Linked DNA regions of Homo sapiens: all the other regions are linked to region 3. Evidence: promoter capture Hi-C in 16 types of primary human blood cells and fetal thymus (Javierre and others, 2016). All regions are on one chromosome and are shown on one strand. Each heading gives the region's core, a stretch centred on a gene start or on the middle of the fragment in contact. The rest is flanking DNA. Distances are from core to core; before and after follow the strand shown. Region 1 holds the start of DDX56 (DEAD-box helicase 56). Region 2 holds the start of OGDH (oxoglutarate dehydrogenase). Region 3 holds the start of RAMP3 (receptor activity modifying protein 3). Region 4 overlaps ADCY1 (adenylate cyclase 1).

The links. The method cuts DNA at HindIII sites, captures the fragments that hold promoters and counts their contacts. A CHiCAGO score of 5 or more calls a contact.
Region 1: a contact is called between the fragment with the promoter of DDX56 here and the fragment with the promoter of RAMP3 in region 3, in 7 of 17 cell types (monocytes, naive B cells, total CD4 T cells and 4 more). The highest score is 8.8, in monocytes.
Region 2: a contact is called between the fragment with the promoter of OGDH here and the fragment with the promoter of RAMP3 in region 3, in 5 of 17 cell types (fetal thymus, total B cells, naive B cells and 2 more). The highest score is 11.3, in fetal thymus.
Region 4: a fragment that was not itself captured here is called in contact with the fragment with the promoter of RAMP3 in region 3 in 1 of 17 cell types (M1 macrophages); the score reaches 5.1 in M1 macrophages.

What each region holds. Positions count from the first base shown.
Region 1 is chr7:44,572,630-44,575,418 of GRCh38, forward strand. It overlaps DDX56 (DEAD-box helicase 56), which reads right to left and starts at 1,279. Exons shown (of 14, transcript NM_019082.4): 1 at 1,207-1,279; 2 at 954-1,115; 3 at 261-421; 4 at 1-115. The coding sequence starts at 1,266. RefSeq lists an enhancer at 896-1,045. The HindIII fragment of the contact is 6,359 bases long and covers 1-2,636 here.
Region 2 is chr7:44,605,248-44,607,947 of GRCh38, forward strand. It overlaps OGDH (oxoglutarate dehydrogenase), which reads left to right and starts at 1,380. Exons shown (of 23, transcript NM_002541.4): 1 at 1,380-1,406. RefSeq lists enhancers at 940-1,539, 1,791-2,354, 2,030-2,369 and a silencer at 1,580-1,809. The HindIII fragment of the contact is 8,395 bases long and covers 1-2,026 here.
Region 3 is chr7:45,156,431-45,159,130 of GRCh38, forward strand. It overlaps RAMP3 (receptor activity modifying protein 3), which reads left to right and starts at 1,361. Exons shown (of 3, transcript NM_005856.3): 1 at 1,361-1,456. The coding sequence starts at 1,399. The HindIII fragment of the contact is 23,160 bases long and covers 1-2,090 here.
Region 4 is chr7:45,678,586-45,681,457 of GRCh38, forward strand. It overlaps ADCY1 (adenylate cyclase 1), which reads left to right. Exons shown (of 20, transcript NM_021116.4): 11 at 1,124-1,208. Among named protein-coding and RNA genes, the nearest start is that of ADCY1, 110 kb to the left of the region's middle. The HindIII fragment of the contact is 2,955 bases long and covers 1-2,739 here.

The DNA of each region.
Region 1 (2,789 bases), core at 29-2,528, 580 kb before region 3:
GTCCACCACCAAAAGCTCCAGGGAGTCACGAAGTTTCAGGCTGTCTTGCTGCAAGTGGCTTAATATGCGAGATGGGGTCCCTACTACCACATCTGGCTTCTCCATCAGCACAGCTCTGGAGGTGGACAAGACATCAGTATCAGGCAGAATGTAGCAGCTGGGATCTCACCCTGGATTTGCTCTCTTTTTTGCCACACACAAACCCAACCCCACAACACTGTGTAGCTTCATTCAGGTACAGCTTTGCTGCTTTTACCCACCTCTGAGAGACTGAGTCTTCAGCAGCTGAGACATTGGCCACTCGGACATCCCGAGCACAGTAGGTAGCCAGCTGCTGAATCATGGACTGTGCTTGCCGTGCCAGCTCCTTGGTAGGAACAAGAACAAGGCCTCTCACTGCCTGTTCTACCACCGGACCTGTCTGTAAGAATATGAATTAAAGACTTTAGCCAGCAGTGCACATCACTGTGTCCACGTGTCTCTACCCCTTCCAGCCTACCTGACCCATCTGCTGCAACACTACTTAGCAGTACTTTGATCATCTATCACTCTGCCCGCCTCAGAATGCAGAGTGGAGAGTTCTTTCCCCAGGCACTGACCCTCAAAAAGAATAACGTACTCTGATGTTTATGAAGCTACTTTAAATATACTAGTTATGAAGCTAAATTCTCACAATAATTCTGTAAGTAGAAAAGATAGATGTGCTCCCTTTTTATGTAAGAAAGAAAAGAAAGTGCTTTGTCGAAGATTACGCAAAGGTTGGTGGTAGCAGGGCCGGACAAGGATCCAGGTAACCTGAACTCCAGCCCAGAGTGTTTGCCACAACAGCACCAGGTTCTCAGGCCGGCCTGCACGGGTACAGGGCCAAGAGAAAACCTCAGACAAACGGGAACCGCCCTTCCCAGGCTTTTGGAGCTTGCCTCCTTCCTCCCCTCAGCTCTCTCGTTACCCACCGCCTTCCTATGGAGCAACAGCTGCAGCATCGGAATAGCATAAGCGGCCGTCTTCCCGGAGCCCGTGCGGGCCCGAGCCAGGAGGTCCTTCCCTTCTAGGGCCAGTGGGATGGCCTTCTCCTGGATCAGCGTAGGTCGCGACCAGCCCAGATCGGTGACAGCCTAGGAGACCAGGAGTGCGGTTTAAGCGGCGTGAAGAGCGATGGCGCGCCCCGCAGAGCCCGTAAGCCGGCTCCCCAGCCCTCGCGTGTACCTGAAGGAGCCGGGGATCGAGGCCCATGTGTTCGAAGCCCAGTGCTTCAGAGTCCTCCATGGCGCTGCTCAGTAGCGCAGCACGCACGCGCTGCAGGAAAAACGCCACCGACGCGAGCGGGAGCAAAGCAACAACCAATCGGCTTCGGAGACGAAGTCACTTCCCGGAAGTGCTGGCGGCCTAGGCTTCCGGTACTCGGACGGAGCTCTGCGACTGCGCAGTCCCTAGGACTGGGTCTAGTAGGAGGCGGTGGAGCGGCCGTGCTGGGGTCGACGGGGTACTTTGGACTACAGAGCCGCTCCACTGGCTCTTCCGGCGTTCCCGGACGCCGCTGACGCACCTGATTCTCGCGACCTGCAGGAGAAGCCTCGGCCGGGGCGAGGGCCGAGGTCGTGACGGGCATGACCGTCTCTCTGCTTGGTTAGGGTTAGTGTCCCGCCGGGCACATCACCCTATGAATGGAGCCACTGAGATAGACTGGGCTGAGGAGAACCGGTTGGAATAATGAGCCATGGCAGCAACTGCCTGAGAGAGAGGACCGGCGGGTTGCTGTAGGGCTCCCTAACCGGACTGCCTGTCAGAAACCTGCACAGCTTGGTTTCTGTTCTTTGTGTCCCAAATCTGACTCGGGTCACCAGTTAAGACCCGTGTCAGACTTCTGACCTACAGACTTGCGTCGTTTTAAGCCAGTAAATTTGTGGTAATTTGTTACAGTAGCAATAGGAAAATAATACAGGTGAGGACTAAGAATCCTAATCACAAATCTTTTTTTTTTTTTGAGACATGGTCTGACTGTCACCCAGGCTGGCGCGATCTCAGGCTCAAGTGGTCCTCCCACCTCAGTCTCCTGGAAAGCTAAGACTACAGGCACGCACCACCACGTCCAGTTAGCGTGTATGTATGTATGTACGTACGTGTGTGTGTGTGTGTATGTGTATATATGTAACTCCTCCTCCCCTCCCCCCTCCCCTTCTCTTCTTTTCTTTCTAGATGGGGTTTCGCCACGTTGCCCAGGACGGTTTTGAACTCCTGGGGCCAAGCGATCTGCCTTCCTCGGCCTCCCAAAGTGCTGGGATTGCAGGTGCGAGCCACTGCTCCTGGCCCATAAGTCTTTCAGTGTAGAAGAGGGAAGCAGAAGAGGTCAAAGTGGTGCCATGTGAGAGCTCAACCCACCCTTGCTGGAGGAAGGGAGCCAGAGCCAAGCTGGAAAAGGCAAGGAAACAACCTTTGTGATTACATTAGGCCCATCCAGATGATCCAGGATAATTTATTTTACAGTCATCTGATTAGCAACTTAATTCTCTTCTGTCATGTTAGGTAACATATTCATATGTTTCAGAGTGGTAGGCCATTATTCTACCTACCATACCACCCAACACAAATCTACATTAAGACTATATCTGAGTGTTGCACAGGAATCTATGTCAACAAGCTTCCAGGATGATCCTGTGCATCCTATCTGATGCAGCCCAGCATCTGAGTACCAGAGACTAGCATCTGGCTGTTAGGTTAGGAGAGATCAGCTCATGCACCAACAGGTAGTCATGCTGGGACCAAATGATGAAGATAGGTACAACTAGTCC
Region 2 (2,700 bases), core at 130-2,629, 550 kb before region 3:
AATGGCATTAAAAAAAAAAAGACAGTATCTTGCTCTCTGGCCCAGGCTGGAGTGCAGTGGTACAATCATAGCTCACTGCAGCCTCAATCTCTCAGGCTCAAGAGATCCTCCTGCCTCAGCCTCCCAATTAGCTGAGACTACAGGTGAGTGCCACTACACCTGGCTAATTTTCTTGATTTTTTAGTAGAAATGAGATCTTGCTCTGTTCCCCAGGCTGATCTGGAACTCCTGAGCTCAAGCGATCCTCCCGCCTCCACCTCCCGAAGTGCTGGGATTACAAGCGTGAGCCACTGCACCCAGCTGCAAATGTTTAGTACATACATTTTTACCGTAATTTATTTAAAAAAAAAAAAGGAAAAAAGAATACAGAAGTTTGTTCCTTGGTCTCTTCACCTCTTCCAGTCTCTAGATCCTTGTCACATACATTACCCTAACTTTGTTCTATAATAAGCACTTATACGCCCCCTTTTTTTGTTTGTTTTTTGAGACGGATTTTCGCTCTTGTTGCCCAGGCTGGAGTGCAATGGCACGATCTCGGCACACCGCAACCTCCGTCTCCCGGGTTCTAGCGACTCTCCTGCCTCAGCCTCCCGAGTAGCTGGGATCGCCACCACGCCCAGCTAATTTTTGTATTTTTAGTAGAGACGGGGTTTCCCCATGTTGGTCAAGCTGGTCTCGAACTCCTGACCTCAAGTGATCCGCCCGCTTCGGCCTCCCAAAGTACTGGGATTACAGGCGTGAGCCACCGCGCCCGGCCTTTCCCCAAATTTTAATACTTTAAAATAGGGAACATCTTACAATCAACAGGTTGTGACAGGTTAATTAGCCACGTTTTATCTTTGATAGGTAGCTCTAAAGTCAAGAAAACCCAGGCAAGATCCCGGGCAAGATCCCAGCACTGCCAACTGTCATTTGTAGACCGGGGATAGGAACACCTGTCTCACAGATTGTTACACAATAGCGCCGGTGAAGCGCTTGTCACAAAGCCTGACCCAGGACAATCTCAAAAACGGAGATTCTGTTATTCAAATTGTTTATTTTTGTGCGCTAAGTTTCACATCAACCCAACTATCTCTTGATAGGTTCCTACCAGGCGCTAGAGATATCTTACTTTCAGAAATTATTTATGATAGCAGAAGCCGCTGGAAGTCCATAGACAACCTCATCTCTCTAGCGGAGCAAACAGCTGGGCTCCAGCTGGCCCTGGCTTCTGCAACTGCGCAGTCGGCGCTGTGACGCCCGGCGCGGCTCTGTGACGTCACGAATCGGTCCTCTGTAAGAGGGGAGGGCATTCTTCTCCAGGGGAGGGCTACGTGTTGACGCCATACGCCGGGGCGGGGCCGAGAGTTTGGAGCCCCGGAGTGGGGTGTCGGCGCCTCATTCGGGTGGAGCTGAGCCGGAGACAGGTAACCGTGCGCTGTCGCCGCGCCCGTCCCAGTGCCGGGTGTCGCGGCGCTTGGCGGCCCGGGGTTGGAGATCGCGGTAAAGGGGGAGGCCGCCGCGCCCTTGGTGCTGCGGGCGCCGCGGTGACAGGGGAGTGGAGCTGGATGGAGTGGGGCTCACGGAGGGTGGTAGGAGGGACGGGACCTGATGGATGGCCGTGGCAGCCAATGGAGCCGCGGGGCCTGCCCGGCGGGCGGAGATTGGCGGGTACGGGCGGGCTCCGAGGTCGCGCGGGGCGCGGAGCGACGCGCCATTGGCGGTGGGCGAGCGGGGGGCGGGCGCGGCGGCGGATGTGAGGGAGAGGGCGGTGCGTCCGCAGGGGTGACCCCCAAGGTCGCCGCGGGCGTCACGTGGTTAGGCCGCTCTCCGACGGCGTCCTTCCCGACCGGGACGCACTCTCCTTCCCGCCTGTGAGGACCGCGTCGCTTTGTCCGAAAGACAGTGTGGCCTGCTCGAGTTGCGTCGGAGCATCTGGCTTTGGGGTGGCCCTGGGTGGGACTGCCTGTTTGGATTACCGCGCAGACCTTGGCGCCGCCCCCACACCTGCTGCCAGAAGTTGGGTCGAACAGATTGACCGAGATGAAGCTTATTTCTCGTAGAAACATCTTTCAAGCACCATTTTCCCTCGAAAATATATCAGACATTGGATATGAGTTGTAATCTACTGAGATTTAATAGAAAACTTGCCGCGCCCTCGCCCTGACCTGGGTGCGTCCCACCTGCCATCCCCATCCCTTTGCCCAGAACATAGGACTTCGTGTTAGGGTTTCCTTGTGCCTTGTCTTGCAGTCCGTACTTTGAGGCTGATTTCCAGGTACACTGCTCTGAACAGCTGGGTTTAGGATGGGTGGCATGGGATAAAGCCTTTTTTTGTAAGGCAGCACTAGTTGCAACAGTCAAACTGTACTTTGCCGTGTAGACCTAGGAGAGTATGTAACACTATTGTAGTTTTGTAAATTAGCTGAGGACTGGATCTTGGGAAGTTGAATAAAGATCACTGTATGCTCATTTTTTGTTGTTGTTGTCTTGTTTGAGATGGAGTCTCTGTCGCCCAGGCTGGAGTGCTGTGGCGCGATCTCGGCTCACTGCAACCTCTGCCTTCCTGGGTTCAAGTGATTCTCCTGCCTCAGCCTCCCAAGTAGCTGATATTACAGGCACGCGCCATCACGCCCGGCTAATTTTTGTATTTTTAGTAGAGACGGGTTTTCACCACCTTGGCCAGGCTATTCTCGAACTCCTGACCTCAGGTGATCCGCC
Region 3 (2,700 bases), core at 111-2,610:
AAAGCACAGAAAGTTCTTCTCCCGAATAAGGGTCTTGTTAAATAAAGTGGGTCTTTCTAAGCCAGGAGAAGTTCAGCTCAGCTCCTGGGAAGGTAGCAGTACCTACGGCTCAGAGGAGTGGAGGGCCCATCCATGTAGGAGCCTGGGCCTGTGCCCCAACCTCAGACCAGCATGTGCCCCCAGGGGTGGTGGGTGGGCCCTGGAGGGCAGAGAGGTGCCTCTAGCTGGCTCTCGGAAGTCCTGACCAGTGACAATTCTTAAGACACCATTAAGTGTCCACTGGAGCCAGGGCCTGTGCTAGGGGCTGAGGGTGACAGAGGTGACCCATCTGGCCAAGTGACCTGTGGCTGGAGAAACTGAGGCCCTCCTTCGCCTCAGGGACCCTGACACTCTTCAAGGCCAGGTCTTTGGTGGTGCCAGATACTCTCCTGTCCCTTGGTTTGCTTGTGGCTTGGTTCTTGGTGTGTGATACGTCTCTGTGTGTGTAGTTGCCACACCCTCCAGTCTCTCTCATACACACTGTTTCCCAAGCATACACTCACAAACACACCTTGTCTCAGACTCAAACACACACATGCCACACACACACCATACATCACACACTCCATGCACACACATGCATCTACACACACCCCACATGCACATCACACACACGTACTCCATGAACAACACACACACGCACACACACAGACGCACACACACACACCCCCCAACCTCTTTTATGCACTTTCCTGACCTTTGGAGACCTGGCTCCTAGATGTATCTCTGCTCAAAGTTCCCCTCCCTGCCTGGGGGCAGCTCTGGACTCTGGTCTACTTTCGGCCAGGGCACACCTAGCCCACTCCCAGGTCCACCTTCCTCCAGTCTACCCCCAGACTCCTCTAGGCCATCATCAGCCAGCGCTTCATCCTCACCTCAGCTCCCTCCCCGGTCTACCCCCACCCTCTGCCCCTGAGCCTGGACGGAAGTTCCCCAAGTCTCTCCAGCCTGCATCCCAGCCCACCGTCAGCCGGCCCCCACGCTCACCCCAGCTCACCTCCCAGTCTGCCCCTACAATCTGCTCCCAAAAAGCTCCTTTGCAGCTCAGCACCCCAGCCCCGCCCTCAGAGCCCATCAGCCGGCACCCCACCTTACCCCAGCTTGTCCCCAGCTCGAAACCCTGCCCTCGCCCCCCTCTCACCCCGCTGAGACTCCAGCCGCCCCCATCCCTCCCACCCGGCGCGCCTGCAGGGACTGCACCCCACATCTGGAGGCAACGGGGCACGGCCGCAGGCGTGGTCTGGGGGTGCGGCCTGAGGGCGGACCCCCTGAGGCCCCGCCCCACCCCAACCCCAACCGGGCGTCCCCCAGCCGCGCCCCCAGCGGGACCGAGCGTGACCCAGCTGCGGCCGGCCAGCCATGGAGACTGGAGCGCTGCGGCGCCCGCAACTTCTCCCGTTGCTGCTGCTGCTCTGCGGTAAGGGGGCGACGGCCCGCACCGGGGGCGCCCCCACTCCTCGGGGTTCACCGGACCCGGGTGGACCCGCGCCTTCCCGCACCTGCGCCGCGGTCCTTCCCTTGCCCCGGAGCTCGGGAGGGGCGCACAGTGACCCTGGCGGGATTCCCAGGCTCTGCGGGAGGGTTCCACCCGGGAGAAGCTGAAGGCGAAGGACTCTGGCGGGCAAGGGAGGCACAGGGCCCCCTCCGGGGTCTTCTGACGGCAGGGTCCGGCAGCCCCCGGTCCTTCTAGTTGTGATGTCCCCCCACGCCCCGGTTCTGGGGTCGCCTCAGGGTGGGCGAGAAGAGGTGGACCAGGTCTGGCTCTTTACCCCTTATCCCCCAGGGTGGGCTGTCTGTAAGGTAGTGAGCTCTCTGTCCTGGCATTGAGTGCCTGCCCACCACTCACAGGGGCGTGGGCGGGTGGACTCCGGACTGGGTAGCTGGTCCTCCCAGGGCCCCTCAGTGTGTGGACGCCTGTGTGTGTCCTGGAACTGGCTGAGAGGGGAAGCGGGGCGACTCTCTGAGCCATCCTCTCCTAATGCCTTCTTCGGCAAGAAATCAGGACTCTAGGAAGAACCATTGCTCACAAAATGGAAATAGATTAAACTAAAAGCTTGTTTTGAAGTACCTTGCTAAAGAAATTATCCAAGAAAAAGTAAGAGAGAGAGAGAGAGAGAGAATGTGTGTAAAGGCTGTTGGGGAAGAGTGCTTGCTGAGGGCTGGGGTCCACTGAGTGGTGACTGAGCCTGGCCAGTTCTGGGGGGGACATTGGTGATGGAGGGCCCTGGCCTGGTGGTCCCCAGTTTCCCTGGCTGTAAGATGCAGAGTTGGGCCTGTTTTGATGATTTGGGATTTGGTACGGGAGGTGGGAAAAGGGTGGACCAAACTCAGTGGTCATTTTCCTTCCATTGAAGAGGTCTTGGTGTGCAGAACTTGTGTGGCTTCATTTGGTGTTCCAGGGCTGGAGCCTAGGATGTGGTGGATTTTGTGTTGAAGTGCAAAGGTGGATGGCAGCTTCTGAAATCAGGAGCATGCTGATTTGGGATTTCAGCAAACTTCCAGTGAGCGCCCCTTAGGTGGAGATCTTGGTCGCTATAGTGGAAGGAAGGTCCTCTCAATTCATTCTGGGAGAAGCTGAGGCTTTCCTGATCATCTCCAGTATCAAATTGAGAAGGACCACAGGCTTCCGCCTGCACAGAATCCCCCCTTAATAATCCTGTC
Region 4 (2,872 bases), core at 12-2,511, 520 kb after region 3:
ATAATAGCTTTTGGCTGGGTGTAGTGGCTCATACCTGTAACCCCAGCACTTTGGGAGGCTGAAGCAGGAGGATTATTTGAGGCCAGTAGTTCAAGACCAGCCTGAGCAATATAGCAACACTCTATCTACAAAAAAAAAAAAAAAAAAAATTAGCCAGGCATGGCAGCACTTGCTTGTAGTAGTCCCAGCTACTCAGGAAGCTGAGGCAGGAGGATCCCTTGAGCTCAGGAGTCTAAGCTGCAGTGAGCTATGATCTCACCACTACACTCCAGCCTGGATGACATAGTGAGACTTTGTCTCTAAAAATAATAATAATAATAATAACAATAACTTTTGAGAAGAAACTGCACTTAATGAGCTCATTGGCTTCTAAATCCATGTCATTTTCAAAAACTTAAAATCCCTCTTAAAAGGAAGAAAAACAGTAGTTTAAATAACATTTAAACATCATATAAGTAAATGTGAGTTTGGCAGCTTTTATTTTATTTTATTTTTTTTGCAAGAAAGACACCACTGAGTCTGCACTTGCCACTTTACTTTCAAGTGTACTCATTTCTTAATAAAACCTACCTACGGGAATACTACCTCCTCTGAGTTTGAAAGCACATGGAGGCCACCCCACACCTGCGGAGGAGGAGGGAGTTCAGCCCTGGGTGCTCTGCATCCTGCCCAGCCCACAGACACTGAACACAGCAGCCTGCCTCATGGGCCTATTTGGGATTTAAGCGTTTTCTAAAAATGCCCTTCCCAGACAAAGCCCAGCTAGAGAATAGCTCAGCAAAGTCTGGGAAACTCTTGTCTTTCCATCATGAGGAAAACGGCTTCCAGAAAAGTTCTGTGATTCTCAGCCTAAGCTAGATCTCTGCGGTGGGGGTAGGAGAAGTGGGAGGTAGACTCAGGAGGGGCCCCCTTCTTACTCAGGAACCCCAGATGCCCTGCCCTAAAAAATAGAACCAGCCATGTCAGTTCCCAGAGACCTGAGTGGCAGGCATCCAGGTTAACGATGCTGCTTCCTCCTGAGAGCACAGGGGATGTGGAGGGAGGGGCCAATTCTCAGCCATCTCTTGGGTCCGCCTCTCCTAATCCCCACCTATCAGTGACTCTCATGTTTTCTGTCCCCCAGGAGTGTGGTCGTCCTGCTCCTGCTAGTATTCTGCATCTGCTTCCTGGTGGCCTGTGTCCTGTACCTGCACATCACCCGGGTCCAGGTATGTGGGTGGCCTGTGTCCTGTACCTGCATATCACCTGGTTCATGTATGTGAGTGGCCTGTATCCTGCACCTGCATATCACCTGGTCCAGGTATGAGGGTGGCCTGTGTCCTATACCTGCATATCACCTTGTTCAGGTATGTGGGTGGCCTGTGTCCTGTACCTGCATATCACCTGGTCCAGGTATGAGGGTGGCCTCTGCCTGCCCTCTGGGTGGGATGGGGTGGGATAGGGGAGGCAGTTCTGTTCCCTCCCCTGCCTAGACAGGAAGAAAGAGTCTGCTCATATAGCAGGTGCTCATGAAGACCCAGTTCTGCACTGGGCACATGCACTCCTTTGGGAGTGTACCTGGTGGGCACAATAGACTGGCGATTGATATTGATTAAACAAATGAGCACAAGATACTGATCCTGTTCTCTTGGAATGGAGAGTCTAGCAGCAGGACAGAAGAGGGATGTTTATTCTGTGTTTATGTCACAGACTTTGGAGAGGGGTGACATTTTCCAGGTACATTGTGCTATCTGGGCCCTGATGCCTCATCTGCTTTGCTCTGTGGGCTTTTGCAGGAAAGACGTGAGCTTTGCGGCCTTGTACTATCTGTGGCTCACTTGGAGGACTGTATAGTTCCTAGTCCTGCATTCCTTCATCACATTCTCCACCTTCATTTCTAAACGACTCGTTTCCCTCAGCCGACCCCAGGATGTCACTTCTGGCAGACCCAGTGTTATATTTGCATAATTACTGAAAACAGCAACTTTTTGAAAAGATTAAATCTAGTTTCATTCATTTAACTTTGTCATTATTCATAGGTAATATCTTGAGTTTTTAAATTAAAAAAATGCTAACTATTAAAACTTCATTCCTATTTCTTTGACTTGTATAGATTGAGTGACATTTGGTTTGACAAATTTTAAAATTTACCACTTCAAGTAAAACTGCTGTTTTTCATATAATTTCAAGTGAAAGCAGGACAGAAGGATGATAGTTTTTAAAGCCTATTCCTTAGTCCTCAGTGGTGGGAACCAGTGTGCCCACCCAATGGTGTACAAATAGCATTAGACATGCAGAAAGTGTGAAAAGCCATTGGGCAAGAAGAGCGATGACAAAGCAGAAGCCAAGGAATGCGCCAGCCTGGAAAGCTCTGCCCAAAGGTCCTGGCCCAGGAATACTGATTCTTGCGAGTGGATGTACACTGCTTTCTGTGACTCCACGAGAGCCTCCCAAGCCAGGTGGTGAGACGGGTCAGCCCCTTTCCCACATGTGAGGAAAGTGGGCTCAGGCAGGCTAAGGGATGTGCTCATGAAACCAGGAAGCAAAATCTGCACCCAATCTGTCCATAAAAATAATATTCAAATTAAGAAAACTCTCGGTTCTAAAAAACACATGATCTGTGGGATTGGGGCGCTAAGTCATCTGCCCAGAATTACCCCCCTTTTGTTAATAAGGGAGCTGCCCTCATGGCTGGGAACTTTGGCCAGAATAATTCCAGGTGCTGACATTAAAGGAGGCTAGCCTGCAGTTATCCCATGAAGCTTCTTCTGTATTCCAGTGTTTTGTTCTCTTGGTGGACTCTGCCCTGGATGCCACTAGCTCCTTTCCTTCTGAATATTCACTCTCCCTTCTCACCCTCTTCTGTGAGCAAGCATAGAGCGTTTTTTCCTAA